Linked DNA regions of Homo sapiens: regions 1, 2, 3, 4 and 5 are each linked to region 6. The links are contacts of gene promoters, found by promoter capture Hi-C in blood cells and fetal thymus (Javierre and others, 2016). All regions are on one chromosome and are shown on one strand. The core of a region is centred on a gene start or on the middle of the fragment in contact, and the rest is flanking DNA. Distances in the headings are between cores, read along the strand shown. Region 1 overlaps ATE1 (arginyltransferase 1). Region 2 overlaps PLEKHA1 (pleckstrin homology domain containing A1). Region 3 overlaps GLRX3 (glutaredoxin 3). Region 4 holds the start of MGMT (O-6-methylguanine-DNA methyltransferase). Region 5 holds the start of WDR11 (WD repeat domain 11). Region 6 holds the start of BCCIP (BRCA2 and CDKN1A interacting protein).

Region 1 (3,028 bases), core at 398-2,897, 3.9 Mb after region 6:
CCGGACACACACTCCTATTTTTAAACCTCACACTTTGAATTTAAAAAAGAAAAAAGGTTACCCTGCCGTAATTAACACACTACTTATTTTTTCAGGCATGTGGGCACATTCCATGACAGTACAGGATTATCAGGATCTCATAGACCGAGGATGGCGAAGGTAAAGCTTCCAGATACAAAGAGACTTCCTACTGTTACTCAGGTTCTTGAAAAATACAGCATGCCTTTGAAATGCTTTCCTGTTGGAAAGAGGTTTAAGAAAAATTTTTATTATATTCTTTTATGTAGTGATTTTTTGTCTCCTTTTTAAAAAACTTTGTTAGGAAAATGTCAAATATCTATAAAAGCAGAGAGTACATTAGAATGAACCTCAAGTACCTATCACTAAGCTTCAGCAGTTATTAACGTTCTGCCAATCATGTTTGATTCTCCTGCTCCACCTTTTAATATTTAACAGCAAATTACATCAGTAGGTTATTATGACATTTATCCTATCAATAGATAGGCAATAAGTATGTATCTCTAAGAGAGAGGTCTTTTTTTCTTTTTAACTTATCCACAATGCTGTATCACACCTTACAAAATTAATAAAAATTCTTTGATGTTACCTGTTACCTACTTTTTATTAGATTTTCCAGATTGTCTCAAAAATGTCTTCTTTAACAGTTTATTTGGATAAGGATTTCCTTAAAGTCCACACATGGCCTGTTTTGAGTAGTTATTTTTATGTGGATGATTTTTAAGTAACTCTTAGGTAAAGTTCCTTGTGTAAATATAAGTAATATTAAATACTGTACGCTAATACTTGCCAAAGACGTGGGATTGGGAGCACCAGCTGAAATATCACAACTTTCCTTAAACTTAATGAGATTCAAAAGGTAGACATAGGTCAGATTTTAAAGGACTTCACATGCCATGATAAGGAACTTTTTTTTTTAGAGACATGGTCTCGCTCTGTTGCCCAGGCTAGAGTCGCTCTCTTGCCCAGGCTAGAGTACAGTGCCATCATCATAGCTCACTGTAACCCCAAATTCCCACACTCAAGTGATCCTCTTGCCTCAGCCTCTGCAGTGGCTAGGACTACAGGTGTGCATCACAACACCTGGCTAATTTTTCAGTTTTTTGTAAGATCTTGGCTATGTTGCCCGTGCTGGTCTCGAACATCTGGTTGCAAGTGTTCTTCCAGCTTAGCTTTTCAAAGTGTTGGGATTATAGGTATGAACCACCATGCCTGGCCAGAACTTTTTAGAAGGCAGTCATGGAAGGATTTTATGGTAAGAGAGAAATGTGAAGGAATTTGTTTTAGAAAAGATTGTTCAGATGGCTGAGAGGTATTTGAGGGGGGGTCATAGAGGCAGGAAGATGAGTTCAAAGGTTATTGCGCTATCCAGATGTGCGATGATGAGGACTGTCACCTTAGTGGCAATGGTGATAGAGAAGAGGGGACAATTTAGGATAGGGTTTAAAATGAAGGAAAGCTTGCTAATAGGATATAGAGGTGAATTCCAGGGAGGAGTTTAAAATGACTCCCAGGTCTCTGACTTGAGAACAGAATGAACAGTTCTGTTAGTACCATAGACCTGGAATGCATGGAAAGAAGCGGGTTAGTTTTGGGGTACTCCGTGCTGGTGCATGTGGAATACCCAAGTGTGGTTGTCACAGGCATCACATACATGAGTCCCACAGCATCGTGGGCATTTCTCTCATTGCCCTTGTGGTATTGGGGATTGGTGGCAGGTGAAGGCAGAGCAGGGGTGGCAGATGCTGGTGAGAGGGGAACTGAGATGATTGGCCGTGGGGTACACAAGTAAAGCTTTAGGAAATAAAAGGCAGGGTTCTAAACTTTGCTACACGCACTTTGAAGATTATTTGGCTTATGAAGAGTAATTAAACCTACATGCATTTCTACAATGTTGATTAGATTTTTAACCTTAATTTAATGCTCCTGTGCTAGGCTGTTTTGGTGCAAGTGAAAAATATATAAGACATTAACAAACTATTTTTATAATTTTAGAAGTGGAAAATATGTGTACAAACCTGTCATGAATCAAACATGTTGTCCTCAGTACACAATAAGGTAAGAATTTTAATTAGTAGAAAGAGGATTTATAGTATGAAGATTGTGTATAATATTTTAGTAGTCTCTTGTGCTTTTTTAATGTTTATTTCCGCTCTAGGTAGATGTCCTTTAAAAGGAAAAGTAAATGAGTTATGTCTTTTCTTCATACTGATGCTGTATTTATGTGCTGATCAGTAGGTTTTAGTAATATTGTTTGATTGGTTCAGATATAAATATGTGAAAAAAATACCCTCTTAATTTAGCAATCTTGTCAATGAATGCCATGAAATATTGGGAAAATGTTGGTAAATATTCACATTACTTTTGGATATTAAATATTATAGGACTTAGCTTAGAATTTTCTGCATTCTGGTGTATTGCTTGACACAGTGCTTGTGTTCAAGCAATGCTACAGGCTCCTATAAATTACTTGGTAGGTTCACGTTCTCATGTTGTGGGATTCAGGAGGACAAGAGAGACCTCGGGTTAAAACAGGAGAAACTTTATTGAGTGCACTTAGGCCCAGCTGACTCAACGTCTAAAAGACTGGGCCCGGAACAAAGACTTTTATACACAGTTCACAGAAGGGGGTGGGCTAGCTTGAAGCAAGCTTACAGTGGCGTGAAAGCAGGGATACAGAGGCAGGACAAACTCAGGATTGCACATGACCGTTGCCAAGCAACCCAGATGTCCGTTATCTAGGTTTGCCTGGGCTTATCCCATAATCTTCACTATGGTGCCCAGGCAGCTGCAGTTCAGGCCTACTCAGGCTTCTCATGACATTCATTGTACTTCTCAGATAAAACAATACTTGAAGTCACTAGTTACAGAGAACAGGAATCTATGAACTCATTCCGTAAAACAAAGGAAAATTTATTTTTTCTTCTCTGCATGTTGAGTGCTGGGAGAATCTCCAGAGCACACTAGATAATATTATCAAGGCTTTTCCTGGGTCTGGGCCGTGCCTGTT
Region 2 (3,038 bases), core at 119-2,618, 3.4 Mb after region 6:
CAGACTGAGTGACTGACCCCATGTGTCTACTTGAAAAGGGGGACAAAGAGAATTGATGAGAAATGGCAGGGCACAGAAAGAAGGCAGACTTAAGTAGTCTGTATGCCACTATTCGACATCACAAGGAAGTGAGTTTCCAGTGGGTTGAATAGAAACCACAGCGTACCTGGATTGAAGTTGTTTTGCCATTATCAAAATATCTCGCTGCAGAGAGAAAAGATCTCCACCCCGACTCACACACATTCACGTAACCAGTGGGTAAACTGACAGGATGGGAGCAAGCAGATGGGTGTGTAGGTTGGAAAAGGTTTAGCTACAGAAAATTTCATACCCAGAAACTGTGCAGCAGGAGTCTCCCTGCAAGATCTCACCAAAAATGCCAGTTTGGTTGCCTATTAGTAGACTGCAATGGCCTGCCACTGTTAATCAAGAGAGGACTCTAATAGCACCAGATAACAAACACTTGTCTTTTTCTACTTCTCTTCTTGACACATTTGTATCCAAATAGATCCCTTAAGAGGGAAAGGAAAGAAGTATCCCAGGAGCTTACCACAAGCCGTCCATACCCCAAGTGCTTCAGTAAGTAAGTGGCCTGACCACAGGGTAAGGAAGGGAAAAAAAACCTTTAAATTGAATATATATGAGATTGAATGTTCAAACTGGAATAGACTGCAATTTTTTGTTTTTGTTTTTCTGTTTTTTTTTTTTTTTTGGAGACAGGGTCTCACTCTCCTGTCACCCAGGCTGGAGTGCCACAGCACAGTCTCTGTTCACTGGAACCTCTGCCTCCCAGGCTCAAGGGATCCTCCTACAACAGCCTCCCAACTAGCTGGGACTACAGGCACATGCCACCACGCCCGGCTGATTTTTCTATTTTCTGTAGAGACAAGGTTTCGTCATGTTGCCCAGGCTGGTCTCAAACTCCTGGGCTCAAGCTATCCTCCCACCTCGGCTTTCTGAAGTGCTGGGATTACAGGCATGAGCCACTGAGCCCAGCCTAGAGCTTTTTGATAACTGTAAATGACAGAAAAGCTATCATTTACCCATGATGTTATGGGGGGTGGGGGACAGGGGGGTGGGAAAGAGCCTACAAAATACAGTTAAAGGCAGTGAATAGTGAAAATTAAAACTCATTAAAACTCTTGTGTTTGTTCTCAGTAAGCTTGGACTGCTGAATAACCTGATGACATATGCAATAGCATTCTCATCCTTAATAATGGGAGGGAACACCTGACATGGAAATTCTCAGGAGGGATTTACTGTACCGGGTAAGATGCTACATTAGAAGCCCTCTGACATCACTTCCAATTCTAGTGCCTGTGATCGTCTTTTCCTTCAAGAGGTTAAATTCAATCCAGAATCTAGAGTTCAATGGTTAAACCATAAAAGGCTAGGCTGCCTAAAGGGCTAAAAACCACAACTTTCTGGAGAATAAAGCTATCAGACTGACAAGCCTGGTAAGAGTTCCATGTAGGAAACAATATTTTGCTCTAAAACTTATTTAACTTAAAAAAATCTTAAATGACTAATTTTCTTTTATATCCAACAGAAATTCCAGTTCAAAGAAAGCTTATAAAATCCCAAAAACCCTATCTTCCTGAATATTATCAATTCAACTAATTAAAAGGCTTACTAAAATAAATAGCAAACATATGTTTGCTTAAGCATCTTCTAGGAATCACAAACTCACATATCCCTTATTAGACAGTACCCACAAGAAAAAAAGTTACTTAGGGTCAAATGGTTTAATATTGCTCAGTAAGTGTAAGAGAGTTCTAGTGCTATAACAAATAACAGGATGCTTTATGTTTACATAAAAACATCCCATATTTTTATGTTTCTAAAAATAATTAAGCATTATAAACAATCATCTAAAGCTACCAAGTTTTCTGCCCTTTCTGAAAGCATTCCTTTCAGACACCATGTCAATAAATTCTTAAATGCTGGATGTGTACTCACAAATGGTCAAAAAACCTAAAACCAAATCTTAATATTTAACTCCTATTGAAGTCATTTTATTGTATCATTGCAGATCTAAAACAAGATTTTTTAATCTTGAAATTTAAATTTTAATATTAACAAAAGTAAACTGCTCCAGCATGAGAAAAGTAATTATTTGCATATTACCTCAGCTCACAGTTGGAATCAAATAGGAAATACTTTAAGGCAGTTAGTTATATCAACCCAAAATTTTCTAATAAAAGCAATGTTACTATTGTCACAAATAATTACTACACTATATTCAGAAAACTATCTTCCCCATTCTCAAATAAGTTATTTAAACAATAATGACTTGACATCAAGCAATATGTCAATGTCAAAGTATGACTTAAATTATATTAATAAACTATTTATTAGATTTCATTCTGGGTTACAAATTATCACACAATTAAAATAACTTCGGGATTTGCAGCATGACTAATAATAATAAAGAACTTCCAGGCTTAAGTCAAAAAGCCACTTTGTTTAAATCTCCATTAAATGTTTTTTGTGGGGGGAAGTCCCCATAAAAATGTAAAATGTTTCCACCTTTCCCAAGTATCTTCCTAGGAGTGGTCAATATTGTCATATCCTATATGTTAGCAAACGATACTTGAATGACTTTTAAAGAAAAGAATCCAATGCTATTCTTAACATCCTTAAACACTTCTAAAAAGGTCCTTCCGGCTTATGAACTCATGGCAGTTTCCTCACAATTGTATACTTATCCTGTTTCACTGTCTCTCCTAGTCTATGACAAACTCAATTTTACACACCATCTTTCCTATTTTGTTACACTGCTAAAACTGGGGAGAAAAAAAGATACAAACCTGCTACTTTCCCCCCTCCCAAAGCGACAATGAAAATACTAATTAACAAGATAAAGATTGGAAGCTCTGCGCGCGCCCGCGCGGTGTGTATACACATATATTTATATTATATATATATATATATATATATATATATATATCTTCTTAATGTCACTAAATTCACAGCCATATATCTTGATACAGGTATACGCTACAAGAGAAAACTGTCAGTAGATACAGTGTAAGGTT
Region 3 (3,100 bases), core at 155-2,654, 4.3 Mb before region 6:
TAGAGACTGATGGCTAGTGGTGGCACTATGCCTCAAATCATAGTGCAGAAGCTGCCAACCTGAGGAAAGGAAGTTTAATGGGTTGTTAGTATGATGTCTAGAGCTCAGGGAAGAAGTCTGCACCTGATATACAGATTTGGGAATCAAGAAAGGAACAGTGCCAGCACCACACCGCAAAGGGTTACAGAGGGACACAGAGGAGACCCGAGGTCAGCGCCTCAGGGGGCTTATCAACATTAAGTTAGGACAGATGGAGGAGAAGGAACTTATGTAGTAAAGCAGAGAAGGGGTCCTAGGCGGTACTGGAAGATTAAGGGGTCCTAGGCGGTACTGGAAGATTGAAGGGTCACATAGAAGTCAAGAGAAGAGTGTCAAGAGGGAGTGACAATCATCCAATGCAACAGGAAAGGGCAACTAACAGAGAGAGTACCTTCAATGGAATAGCAGAAGCACAGGTCAGACTGCAGTCCACTGAGGACTGAAGTGAAGATGAGGAAGCAGAGATGTACTCTAAGAGATCTGTACAGGCAGAGAAAAAGACAAAATCAAGGGATGGGCCTTTTTAATACAAGAAAATCCTTATATGTTTATTTTACTAGGGGATAGTGCAAATGGAGAGGGAAGGGCCGTAGACACAAGACAGCTGAGGATGCAAGGACTCAGAAGAGGCAGGAGAGGGGAAATCCAGAGCAGAGAAGAGCTTACCTTGAAGAAGAAGAAGGCAGTCTCCTCTGAGTCAGGAGCCAAGGAATTAAGAATGGGTAAGGCTACAAATAAATGGTAAGTGTTGGGAGAGGTGAGAGTGGAAGGAGGGCTTGGGGAGATGCTACCTGAAATCCTGTTTTCTCTCAGGTGGGAAGCAAGGTCATTTATCAAAGCATAGGAAAACAGAGGGCAAGACCACTGGTAGGACTGATGAAGGGAGAGTGTCCACAGGCACACAAGGAAAGCAGGAAGCTCCAAATGAAGACCCACCTAAGGCAGGGAAGGACACATTGTAGGAGCCCCTAGTCACCGGATGTTAATTTGCATCCAGCACAACTCAGCAGCTTCAATGGTTGAGTAGGTGGGGCCTCAGGTCCACGGCAGAGACTGTGCTGTTTCAATCAAGCACTGTTTCATCTTCCTCCTGTGCATTCAGCTAGATTACATTTTTCAGTCTTCCTTGCAGTTGTCTGGGGCCCTGGAACTGAATTCTGGCCCTAAAACTAGAACACAGGCCTGACCCCTCAAAACCCTCCCTCAGGAGCCTCTGCCCACCATAGCCTCCAGCAATGAAGAGGATCCAGGGAAGCTTTTTTGTCCATTGCCTAAGGATGGCAAGAACAAAACAGAGGTTCACAGAGGCCTCATGCAAGAATGCTCACAGCAGCCCTATACATAATAAATCAAAACTGGAAATTAGCCAAATGTCCGCCAACAGGAGAAAGTGATAGACATTCATACAACAGAATGTAACTTACCAGTAAAAAGGAACCAACCACAGACATGAGCAATGACACAAATGAAGCTTGAAAATATGTGAGCAAAAGATAACACAGACAAAGAACTGTATGATTCTACTCACACAAAGTCCAAGAGCAGGGAAAACTCATCTACAGTGACAGTAAGAAATCAGTAGCTGGGCTAAAGGGGATGGAAAACTTCCTGGGTTCTATATTCTTCCTGTGAATGGTGGTTATCGGTGTGTATACAATTGTGAAAATTCACCACATCTGACGATTAAGATCTGTGCATTGTTACTGTATGTAATACTTCAATTTCTTTTTAAAGCTGGGATACCATTTTCCACCAAATTGACCAAAAAAAAAATTTTTTTTTTCTTTTTTTGAGACAGGGTCTTACTCTAATGCCCAGTCTGGAGTGCAAGGCAAGTGCAGCCTCGACTTCCTGGGCTCAGGTGATCCTCCCACCTCAGCCTCCCAGACTACAGGCATATTTTGTTCTTTGTAAAGTTGGGCTTTGGCCAATGACCAGGCTGGTCTCAAACTCCTGGGCTCAAGCAATCAATCTGCCTGCATTCGCCTCTCAAAGTGCTGGGATTACAGTCATGAGCCACCGTGCCCAGCCAACAAAAGGACTGTTTAAATCATAATATTCAATGATAAAAAGGATGACGAGAAGTACTTTCATGTCCTGCTGGTAAAAATTAAATTGGGACCTTTCAGAAATTTCTTACACATAAGTATCAATCCTAAGGAAGTAATTAAGAGACAAAGATTTTCTGTACATGGATATTTTCCCACTACTTTACGTAGCAAATCAGAAAAATTTCTGATGCTCAATAATAGTTTTTAAATGGTCATAAGAAAACATAAAGCCATTACAAATCAAATTTTCAAAGAACTTTCAACGCCACAGGAAAATACTAATATAACTACATTTTTCAAAAATTAAAGTAGGTTACCAAACTTTATAATAGTATGAGCCCAAATAAGTAAAAAAGAAAAGAAGAAAGTATGCCATAGAAACTGAATTCATTTCAGTTTCATTATTACTAACATGGTTTTGAAGAGTAATTTAACTTCCACATCTGTAAAACAGCAATAACCAACACTCTGGGATGTTGAGAAGATGAAACAAAAATATAAAACATTTGAAAACATTAAAACATGATATTGTTAGTTGAAATTATCCACAATATTCTCCTATTTAATGCTTACCTTCCATTTCTCAATTAAGCACATAATGTCCAATATTATAAGGACATACTATATCTGAAACAAATATAAACGTTATCCCCTTTTGGATTACATGTTACAGTATTCTTTCCATCTTAATGGATAGCCCCATATGCCTGGAGCATTGTTGGAGAAAAACCATCAGACAAAAACCACATTCAAATCCTGACTAATGTAACTTTAGACAATGTAATAAACTTCAGCTCTTCATCAGCAAATAGTTGTTTTTCAATTATTATAGTATTCTGCTACTACATTCATCTGCAGATACCAGCTACTGCTTATTAAACATATCATATACTAAACCTGCTTACTCTGCAAATGGATATTAATAACCCCATTGTACAAACCAGCTGAGATTTCAGCAACTTATGTAAATATCTGATTCAACTACTTAAAAGAAAAAAATTTCAATTCAT
Region 4 (3,375 bases), core at 741-3,240, 3.6 Mb before region 6:
GGAAGATCACTTGAGTCCAGGAGTTCGAGACCACCCTAGGCAACATACGGAGACCCTGGCCTCTAAAAACAACAACAACAACAATTAGCCAGGTATGGTGGCGCACACCTGTAGTCCCTGGTACTTGGGAGGTCAAAGCAGGAGGTTCGCTTGAGCCCAGGAGCTTGAGGCTGCAGGGAGCTATGATCTCACCACTGCACTCCAGCCTGGGCGAAAGACCAAGACCTTGTCTCTAAAAATAATAAAATAATATTCTGCGGTAAGACCCCAGCTCTTTCAGAAAGTAGCTGCATTAAAAACTACTTGTCCCAGGAAACAGAGGGTCAGGAAGGACCGTAGCAACAGCCCAAGAGCCGAATGAGCACAGGGCCCTGCAGGGTCTGGGAGGCTCAATGTGTCCCCTGGAGGGACTAGAGTCCCAAACGGAAGTCAAAAATCTCAGGGCAAGTGGATCTGGACATGGAACTTTATGCTGGGGAAGGGGGTCAGAATGAAGTGCAGAAACAAGAATAATGCTAAAGGAAAAGATAATGCAGAAAATTCAGTTTTGCCTCCATTTTTTTTCTATCAAAGAGAATATACTGAAAAGAGCATTAGCACCAAAAAGAAAAATGGAAGGTCTGAATCACTGGCTCCTAAATGTGTGTCCTCTGCAAAACAGAACAGACAATTTAGTAACTTTATTTTATTATAAAATACTGAAAGAGTCAGGGTTTTGGTGTCCTAAGAAAGGGTGGGAAGAGGACTGGAGAGGAACAAACTCTGAGGGGGCAATGGGGAAGGCAAGTTCTTTTTCAGGCCCTTCCTACCCCCTTCTTCCCTGCAAAAGGACAGAGGAGGCCCTGATTGAGACACCTGGGGAGGAAACCCAAACAACGAAAAGTAAGGCCCAGGTGATATCAAAGTAAGACCTCAACAAGGTTCAAGAATCTGAGCAGCTGAACAAGGTGCTACCCAATGTATACCTAGGGCTCTATTTCTTTCAACCTTACTAACAGCAAAGCCTTTTTAAAGTAGTGCCTAATACTATTAGTTAAATCCTTATTTTGATACAGATTTTTTTGTTTCCCCTTCAGGACAGTTTCACTCTCGTCGCCCAGGTTGGAGTGCAATGGCGCAATCTCGGCTCACTGCAACCTCCGCCTCCCAGGTTCAAGCAATTCTCCTGCCTCAGTCTCCCAAGTAACTGGGATTACCAGCATGCACCACCACGCCTGGATAATTTTTGTGTTTTTAGTAGAAACTGGGTTTCACCATGTTGGCCAGGCTGGTCTCAAACTCCTGACTTCAGGTGATCCACCCACCTCGGCCTCCCAAAGTGCTGAGATTACAGGCGTGACCCACTGTGCCTGGCCCAGATTTTTTTTTTTTAATGAAGATATATACATTGAAAAGTACCTGAGTATAGCTCCGTACTGGTGGTCTACTTCATCCAGGCCCCTGACTGTGGCAGACACTACTCCACTATTCAAATTCCAACCCGAGACAGAGGGCCCAGGAAGAAAGACACGCGGCAGAGCAAGGCCAGCTCTCCTCTGCTACTTGCAGGCAGACTCCGGGTCTGGGCAAGTATCCTGGCCCTCTGAGTTAACGTGATATTAACAATCAGCCAGGCTCTTGACGCGGTTTCCTTCAAAGTTTTCACACCCCCACCCACCAGGTGCGCTAAGCTTTGGGTTTTTAAAATCTTGTTCATCTCCCAGAGTGTTTTAGCCATTGAGAGGGCCCTGAAAATAACAAAACCATCTCCTAGACACCTGCCCAGGGATGGGGGAGATGACGGGAGAGCCTGACTTAACAGATACTCTATAGGTTTCTATTTGGATGTCTATGTAAATAACCAGTCTAATTCTCAGCTCTCTGTGCTTAACATTCTACTGAGAACAGCTCTCTGGACCAAGCCGCTTCCCTGTCTGATGATGATCTCAGCAGGCATAGGTTGCACACACATGTACAAAGTCTGCTTTCCAGGACAGAAAGCCAGCTACTCAGCTGAAGCAACTGAGAGCAAACACCACCCTGAGATTTCAGGAGATGATGAACCCAGGAGTGCGAAATACATAGTTCAGAACTCCTCTGCGGTGTTATAACCGACATTACGGTGCCCAGTGTGTGTGGCTCTCCAGCGAGCCTTGCTTACTCTAAGTGTTGATGAATACAGTTAGGGTATGATGTACACAAACACCAGCCATAGTAACCAGAAGGCCCCTAGAACTTGGCCTCCAGCAGGAAGGAAATATGGGACTCTGCCTAAGTATGCTAAAGGGTTGCTGCAAGCCAAGGCCCGCGCAGGGGCTTCTGGAAGCTTCCTGGAGCAGCTGGCGGAGGGAAAGCTGGCAGCATGGAAGGGTAGGAAGAACCCGGGGCCCGGGCCTGGGGCTGGCACCTAGAGGTAAGGCAGGGGCTGCCACGACCCCCGCCACACGCCAGTCCACAGTCACTGCAGCGCAGCCTAGTCCAGGAACCCCAGGCCCGGGGAAAGGCTGGGCAACACCTGGGAGGCACTTGGGGCGCACCTGGAGCTCGCCCGGGATGGGTGGGGGTCAGGGCGGCCCCACACCCGACGGCGAAGTGAGGGCGCCTGCAGGACCACTCGAGGCTGCCACCGTCCCGAGGGAGAGCTCCGCACTCTTCCGGGAGCGAGGCGACCCAGACACTCACCAAGTCGCAAACGGTGCGCACCGCGAGGACCTGCGGGCGTCGGGACGCAAAGCGTTCTAGGGGCGCGGGCTGTCCCAGCATATCCGGGGCGCGGGGGCGGGGCCGAGGGGCACGGGGATGGCGGCGTGGGGCGGGGTCTAGAGCGGGGCGGAGCCGAGGACCTGAGAAAAGCAAGAGAGCGCGCGGGGGCGGGGCCGGGGCGCGCGGGGGCGGAGCTGGGGCGGAGCCCGGGAGGGGCGGGGTGTTCCCGCCCGACCGGGTCGGCGCATGCCCTGTGCGGCGGCGCCGGGCCTGAGGCAGTCTGCGCATCCTCGCTGGACGCCGGCACGCCGGCCCTGGTCCTCCGGCAGCGCCGCTGCCCTGTGCGCCTGACCCGGATGGCCCTTCGGCCGGTACAAGCCGGGCGGCGCCTTCCCAGCTTCCGCCTGAGGCTCTGTGCCTTAGTTTGCCAAATGGCCCGTACCTTTTCCTGTCACAGGGATAGTCCGCGGGCGTGCAAGCGACCTGCCACGTGCCCGAGTGGTCCTGAAAGCGCGCGGGGGTCGTAGGACGGCGCCCGCTTAGTGAGAATCCCGGTCCTGCTCGGGGCGGCTACGCTGAGCCCGGAGCGCGAGTCTCTCCCCTCCTGGTGCCGCTCCCCTAGTCAGGGACCCCCAGACCAGCAGAGACCCTGTCAGGGGGCCGTGGGGGCAGCCTCCAGGGCCTGTGGTGGGC
Region 5 (3,113 bases), core at 21-2,520, 5.0 Mb after region 6:
ACAACATCAGCTTTATGCTTTTCTAAAACTTGAAGAGTTTGGGCAGTAATGGAATCAATCACTACCACAAGTGAATGACATCCATAAGCAATTAAACCTTGCCAGCCCCTAGCAAAACAGTAATGTTAAAGTTTAAGTACAGAACAAAGCAGGACGACTTCTTTCTTGCCAAGCCTAAATAAATGATAAGTCTAATTCATATGTACCACCATTAATAAAATCATTTAAACCCAAAGGCCAGTATTTATCATTATCCCACTTAAATAAAAGATCTGGCTAAGCTTAAAATGCTTGTTGAAATTCACTTTTCATTCGGATAAAAAAAGTTCTAAAAGATATGAAAATAGAGACCCGAGGACATAAAAAGGAACTTGTGCCCTCTGACTGTTCTTGTAGGCATACGTCTTTCGCTTATCCGATTTCTAATCCTTAGTATCCACAATGTGCCTGGGGATACTGCGACTAATCCTAGTCCTTCCAACTAAATAAAACGACAAACACTGCACAAGACGTTTCAGTCCTCCTAACAACATCCCACAGCCACAGAATTTTGCTTTACATTTGTCTAATGAGTAGTTTTCAGAGCTGCAGTAGTAATTTATAGTGAAAGGAGAGAGTAATAAAGACGACCTGTTGAAGGCAGGAATGTTCTACACAGGAGGAGCCCGAAAAGAGGTGAAAAGGACAGGTGAAAGAACAGGCGCCTAGCACAGGGTCTGGCACATTGTTGAAAGACAACAGGAATACAAGACAACGAAAAAGAAAAGACAGGATGGGAAAGAGAAAGTGCACAGGGAATTAATGGTGGAGAGAGAGAAGCCTGGAAGCTGGAGGAGAGGAAAAGAGAGAGGAATGGAACGGCAAAAGGGCGAGGTGCAGAGAAAACAGCAGAGAAATACGCGAGAAAGAGGGGAAATGTATTTGCATGGGGGAATTTCCCACACGGGGCTATTATCACTTTTGTAACAACAAAAATCCACCAACTGAAAGCAAGCTCATTGCGTGAGGGCGGCTCCCTGCCTTAGCGAGGCCAAACTAACCAGGGGGTGAAACCTCTTGTCCTTCCCCCTTCCCCCTCACACATTCCTGGCCGATCCTGGCGACCTGGAAGCTCGGCGTCCTCACCAGTCCACCGCCGCCTTGTTGTGGGCGTTGAGGGCCCCCGTGAGGGTGCGCGCCGACACCTTGAAGTTCACTGTGTAGGGCAACATCCCGGCGGCCAGCCCAGGACCTGGGCGCTGACCCGCAACCAGGAAGCGGCGGACACTGTGCTTCCGTTCCAAACAGAGTCCGGGTGGCCCCCTCGGCGCCGCTGTCAGGTTCCTCTAGATTCAAGTTCTACAGGCTCCGGGTTCCACCGCTCCCGGATTCCATCGCCCCCAGGTTCCGTTGCCTTCAGTTTCCTAGGATCCTAGGTTCCGCACTCTCCAGAGTTCCGCCGCTTAGGCGGTTGTGCTAATCTGCGTCAGCTGGGGCTGTATTTGGAAGAAGAGGCGCTGCCTCCAGTCAAGTCTGTTTTTTTCAGGTGGGGACTGTAGGCCTTTGTGCCCTGCTGGAAATCGTGAAAAGCAAGAGAGAAGAGTCCCAGTTATTCTTGCTGCCTTTGATAAGTGAATTTAGGGCAACTACTAGTGCCAGTAGGCATGGGGGATCTACCGATGAAGAAGACACAAAGTCTCCGCTCTCGTGGAGTTTACAGAGAATAATGAATGAGATTAATTAAGAAATGAATGAGATTAATTGAATGAAATTGCCAGACTGAATGAAGTGAATGGCCTGAATATAAACAATTTCCAAATACAGATAACACTGCATATCTGGTGTTTGCAATACTCCCTTCGCACTTGAGGAAGAAGCACTATGTCTGGGGCCAAGTGTGACCCTTTGTCTGTTGCTGGGTACCTTTCATTTCGCACTTTCTCCTCTGCTGCTCTCCAGGTCAGACCCAGTCCTTCCCTCCTTTGTGTTCAGTGTTGGGTTTATACGCTTTAACTATAGCACTTAATGCAATGATTTCTTTTCAGCAATGATATTTGCAGATGTGTGTTTCTCTCCCCAATACATTGTTAGTTTCATGCGCGTCCGTGTGAAGAGACCACCAAACAGGCTTTATGTGAGCAATAAAGCTGTTTATTTCACATGGGTGCAGGTGGGCTAAGTCCGAAAAGAGTCAGCGAAGGGAGATAGGGGTGGGGCTGTTTTATAGGATTTGGGAAGGTAATGGAAAATTAGTCAAAGGGGGTTGTTCTCTGGTGGGCAGGGGTGGATCTCACAAAGTACATTCTCAAGGGTGGGGAGAATTACAAAGAACCTTCTTAAGGGTGGGGGAGATTACAAAGTACATTGATCAGTTAGGGTGGGGCAGGAACAAATCACAGTGGTTGAATGTCATCAGTTAAGGCTGTTTGTACTTCTTTTGTGGATCTTCAGTTACTTTAGGCCATCTGGATGTATACATGCAAGTCACGGGATGCGATGGCCTGGCCTGGGCTCAGAGGCGTGACATTCCTGCCTTCTTATATTAATAAGACAAAACAAAATAGTGTTGAAGTGTTGAGGCGGCGAAAATTTTTGGGGGGTGGTATGGAGAGAGAATGGGTGATGTTTCTCAGGGCTGCTTCAAGTGGGATTAGGGGTGGCGTGGGAACCTACAGTGGGAGAGATTAAGCTGAAGGGAGGTCTTGTGGTAAGGGGTGATATTGTGGGGATGTAAGAAGAAACATTTGTCGTATAGAATGATTGGTGACGGCCTGGATACGGTTTTGGATGAATTGAGAAACTAAATGGAATAAGAGAAGGAGAAAAACAGGTATAAAAGGTCTAAGAATTGGGAGGACATAGGACATCTGATTAGAGAGTGCCTAAGGAGATTCAGCATAGTCCTGCCAGCAAAGATTATTTATTTACTTCAAGAGTTTAGAGTGGCAGTTTGGGGATAGCACCAGGAGATATCAGCTGTGATGGCTTGGAGAAACAGTGTAAACCGGCAGTGTAAACAAGAGCAGGGCATGTATGAGTAGTTGAGAATGGTGAATAGGAGTATGACTACAAAAGATAGGGATGACAAGTTTTTTGGGGCACAGTCTAAGTTGGTCTGGTGTCAAATGAGACTG
Region 6 (3,036 bases), core at 534-3,033:
CTCGGACCTCTGTCCCAGACTATTATGGCACCACCAGGGAAATGGGCGGCAAATGGATTATCTGTCCAGCACCCTTTTCCTGGGTATGGGCTCATCTCCACATGGCTTCAGCAGGAACAGTCACGTTTGTAGAAAAGAGCCCTGTCCCTCATTCCCAGGTGATTTAGAATTAAGACTGTGGTGGTGTGATAGATTTCCCATGTTAACACAAGCAGCATTGATTTCTATAACCCAAAAGTAATAAAAGAGCCAGTCAAAGTTCTAAGTGAAAAATGGTGAGATGGCATTCAAGGCATAGAGCCAAAGTAAAATTTGTAAGGGAAGGAAGATTGATCACATACCCACACCATGGTGTCACCTCTAATCCTGCATCCATGCTTCTCTCCATGCTCCCCTCCATGCTCATCATGACTCATGATTACCTCTCTGATTTTATTTCCTATCACTCTCTCTTCCTTATTCTGATCCAGCCATCTAGGCTGCCTTTCCGTCCCTCAATTGTGAAGACTCTTGATTTTCTTGTAAATGAACTAGAAAGCCAATGCAGCAATCTAAGCAGAGGCCTGAGATCAGACCTATAAGATCTCTCTGACTGTAAGTGGAGTATAGACTGATTGTAGGGGAACAAAAATGGAGAAAAGAACGCCGGTTAAAAGCTGTTACATTAAATAGTAGTCCAGGCAAGAGATGATAGAGGTGTGGACTACGATGGTCTCAGAATTAGTGCTGAGAAATGTCTGGATAACAGGATTTACTGATGGGCTGGATATAGGATGAGGAAAGGGAGGAATTAAAGTTAAGCCCCAGGTTTTGGGTTAGAGCAGCTGGTGACTTTAGGGGCCATTTATAGAAATGGTGACGATTAAGAGAGGGGCATGAATTATTATACAAATTCTGCTTTGGACAAGTTAAGGCTGAGGTATCTATTTAAACATTCAGTAGGCTGAAGGATCATTCAGTCCTAATTGTTTACTAAACAAATAATAAGTACCTATATTGCCAGGCACTACGGTAGGACCTAGTCTGAAGAAAGGAACACAGTTCTATGAGACTATGAAACCAAAGATTTACCCACGACTTGGTCAGCTGCCCCAGGAGCCAGAAAATACAGCCTAGCTGAGATCTGAAGAAGGAAGGGAAAACTGCAGGATAAAGAAGAGCATTTGAAAAGGCTTCTACGGTAGAACGCGGCAAGAGCCTTCAAGAAACTGAGGGCCCAAGTGAGTGCCGCCCGCAGAGTGAAGAGGAGGACAGCTGCTGCCCCGAGGGGAGAGGGCCCCCTCTGCGAGCCCGGGGTGGCCGATTCAGGATCTGAGGCTTCAGCCTGAGAACTAAAGAGGACGAGAAGAACACACCTGTTGTGGCGGGCTTTTTCGGGGAGGACGCGGGTTGGGAGATTAACTGGACCGGACTAGACCTTTAAAAAATAACTACTATGGCTGCAGTGTGTTAAAGACCGAGGAGAAACCTGAGAAAGAACTTATCTCCAGTTTCTCCTCACAGACCCTCAGGGTCAGGGAAGACCCTACACTATTTTTACACAGCCTGGGCTTGCCAAAAAGTTTTTCTCAGGTATAAACCAACTAGGGGAGCGTGTCCTTCTCACCTCGTCAATGACCTCGTCCTCTTCATCCTTTTCCTTGTCACTGTCATCATCGTCTTCATCCTCATTTTCGACTTCTTTTTCCTCTTCCTCGTCGCGCTGGACTGGGGGATCCGGCGGCTGCGGAACCCCACTTTCCACGGCACGCCGCTTAGACCTGGACGCCATGTTGCCGCTCACACTGCGCCTGCGCAGCTTCCCCTTGCCTGACCTTCCGGACCAGCCCATAGTAGCCAAGGGGGTGAGGAACTACGAAGAAGCTCGGCGCTGAGTGCACGTCAACCCCAATGCCCCTGCTGGATTCCGCAGCCATGACCCCTTACAGTCACGTCCAGCTTGCGGTCCCATCTTGCTTTTTTCTTCCGCTTTCCACCCTCCATCACTCCTCCCAAAGCTTCCCCTCCCCTTCCCGTAGTGGTTCAACCCATCTAACCTCTGGCCTCATTCCGTGGCCTGGATGGCGGTGCGCATGCGCGAGCGCCTAGCTGCGCGCAGCCACCCACGCGACCCCAGTCTGAGGTGCGGGGTCCTGGGGCCCGGCGCGGGTGGCCGCCGCGGCCCCTCGGGCTGCGTGGGGAGGGGGCTTCCGCCCCTGTTGTCATTGCTCCTGCAGCCTTTTCGCTGGGACTGCGCGACACCGCCCCCCGACCGGGTGCCCGCTGTGTGCCAGGCCGGGTGCTGGGCACGGTCCCGCGAGGTAGGTGTCGCCGCCCGCTGTACCGGTACGGACGCCGAAGCCCGCGGGCGTGCAGGGGCCCGGCCCCGGGCGGTGTGTGACACAGTGGGGCCAGGGCCCCGAGGCTTCCGCGGACCTGGGCCTGCCCAGGCGGGGATGTCCGCTGCCGCTACCGCTGCGCCGGTGACGGAAGGCGCCTGCCCAGCCTACCCTCGCCGAGCTTCTGGAGCGCATTTCTTGACCTAAAAGTTTTTTTAAAGCCGGCACCGCAGTTAAAAATGCTTCGGCGGGGGGCCGGGCCCGGTGTCTCGCGCCTGTAATCCCAGCACTTAGGGAGGTCAAAGCGGGTGGATCACCAGAGGTCAGGAGTTCGAGACCAGCCTGGCCAACATGGCAAAACCTCATCTCTGCTAAAAGTACAAAAATTAGCCGGGCGTGGTGGCGGACACCTGTAATCCCAGCACTTTGGGAGGCCGAGATGGGTGGATCACTTGAGGTCAGGAGTTCGAGACCAGCCTGCCCAACATGGCGAAATCCCATCTCTACTAAAAATACAAAAACTAGCCAGGTGTGGTGGTGCGCGCCTGTAGTCCCAGCTACTCAGGAGGCTAAGGCAGGAGAATCGCATGCCCCCAGGAGACGGAGGTTGCAGTGAGCCGAGATCGCGCCACCGCACTCCACACTCCAGCCTGGGCGACAGAGGTAGACCCTATCTAAAAAAAAAAAAAAATGCTTCGGGGCCAGTGGGGTAGTCTAG

Evidence for each region. The method cuts DNA at HindIII sites, captures the fragments that hold promoters and counts their contacts. A CHiCAGO score of 5 or more calls a contact.
Region 1: a fragment that was not itself captured here is called in contact with the fragment with the promoter of BCCIP in region 6 in 3 of 17 cell types (fetal thymus, total CD8 T cells and total CD4 T cells); the score reaches 6.8 in fetal thymus.
Region 2: a fragment that was not itself captured here is called in contact with the fragment with the promoter of BCCIP in region 6 in 1 of 17 cell types (total B cells); the score reaches 5.0 in total B cells.
Region 3: a fragment that was not itself captured here is called in contact with the fragment with the promoter of BCCIP in region 6 in 2 of 17 cell types (total CD4 T cells and total B cells); the score reaches 7.1 in total CD4 T cells.
Region 4: a contact is called between a fragment that was not itself captured here and the fragment with the promoter of BCCIP in region 6, in 2 of 17 cell types (naive CD8 T cells and activated CD4 T cells). The highest score is 8.1, in naive CD8 T cells.
Region 5: a contact is called between the fragment with the promoter of WDR11 here and the fragment with the promoter of BCCIP in region 6, in 1 of 17 cell types (total B cells). The highest score is 8.3, in total B cells.

The regions. Positions count from the first base shown.
Region 1 is chr10:121,921,397-121,924,424 of GRCh38, reverse strand. ATE1 (arginyltransferase 1) reads left to right here. Exons shown (of 12, transcript NM_001001976.3): 2 at 96-159; 3 at 2,014-2,076. Among named protein-coding and RNA genes, the nearest start is that of ATE1, 5.1 kb to the left of the region's middle. The HindIII fragment of the contact is 335 bases long and covers 1,480-1,814 here.
Region 2 is chr10:122,376,414-122,379,451 of GRCh38, reverse strand. All of the region lies in intron 1 of PLEKHA1 (pleckstrin homology domain containing A1), which reads right to left. Among named protein-coding and RNA genes, the nearest start is that of PLEKHA1, 3.2 kb to the right of the region's middle. The HindIII fragment of the contact is 407 bases long and covers 1,165-1,571 here.
Region 3 is chr10:130,140,025-130,143,124 of GRCh38, reverse strand. All of the region lies in intron 1 of GLRX3 (glutaredoxin 3), which reads right to left. Among named protein-coding and RNA genes, the nearest start is that of GLRX3, 5.2 kb to the right of the region's middle. RefSeq lists enhancers at 1,222-1,281, 1,302-1,371, 1,382-1,431. The HindIII fragment of the contact is 216 bases long and covers 1,297-1,512 here.
Region 4 is chr10:129,466,583-129,469,957 of GRCh38, reverse strand. It overlaps MGMT (O-6-methylguanine-DNA methyltransferase), which reads right to left and starts at 2,717. Exons shown (of 5, transcript NM_002412.5): 1 at 2,662-2,717. RefSeq lists silencers at 2,418-2,617, 2,638-3,077 and an enhancer at 1,929-2,851. The HindIII fragment of the contact is 635 bases long and covers 1,673-2,307 here.
Region 5 is chr10:120,849,519-120,852,631 of GRCh38, reverse strand. It overlaps WDR11 (WD repeat domain 11), which reads right to left and starts at 1,270. Exons shown (of 29, transcript NM_018117.12): 1 at 1,126-1,270; 2 at 1-108. The coding sequence starts at 1,211. WDR11-DT (WDR11 divergent transcript) reads left to right here and starts at 1,453. Exons shown (of 3, transcript NR_033850.1): 1 at 1,453-1,938. RefSeq lists enhancers at 786-845, 540-1,083, 856-1,325, 1,486-1,605, 1,084-1,628. The HindIII fragment of the contact is 6,223 bases long and covers 284-3,113 here.
Region 6 is chr10:125,822,293-125,825,328 of GRCh38, reverse strand. It overlaps BCCIP (BRCA2 and CDKN1A interacting protein), which reads right to left and starts at 1,783. Exons shown (of 7, transcript NM_078468.3): 1 at 1,607-1,783. The coding sequence starts at 1,771. UROS (uroporphyrinogen III synthase) reads left to right here and starts at 2,071. Exons shown (of 10, transcript NM_000375.3): 1 at 2,071-2,300. RefSeq lists silencers at 1,019-1,238, 1,995-2,424 and enhancers at 1,715-1,914, 1,458-2,143. The HindIII fragment of the contact is 3,281 bases long and covers 1-1,999 here.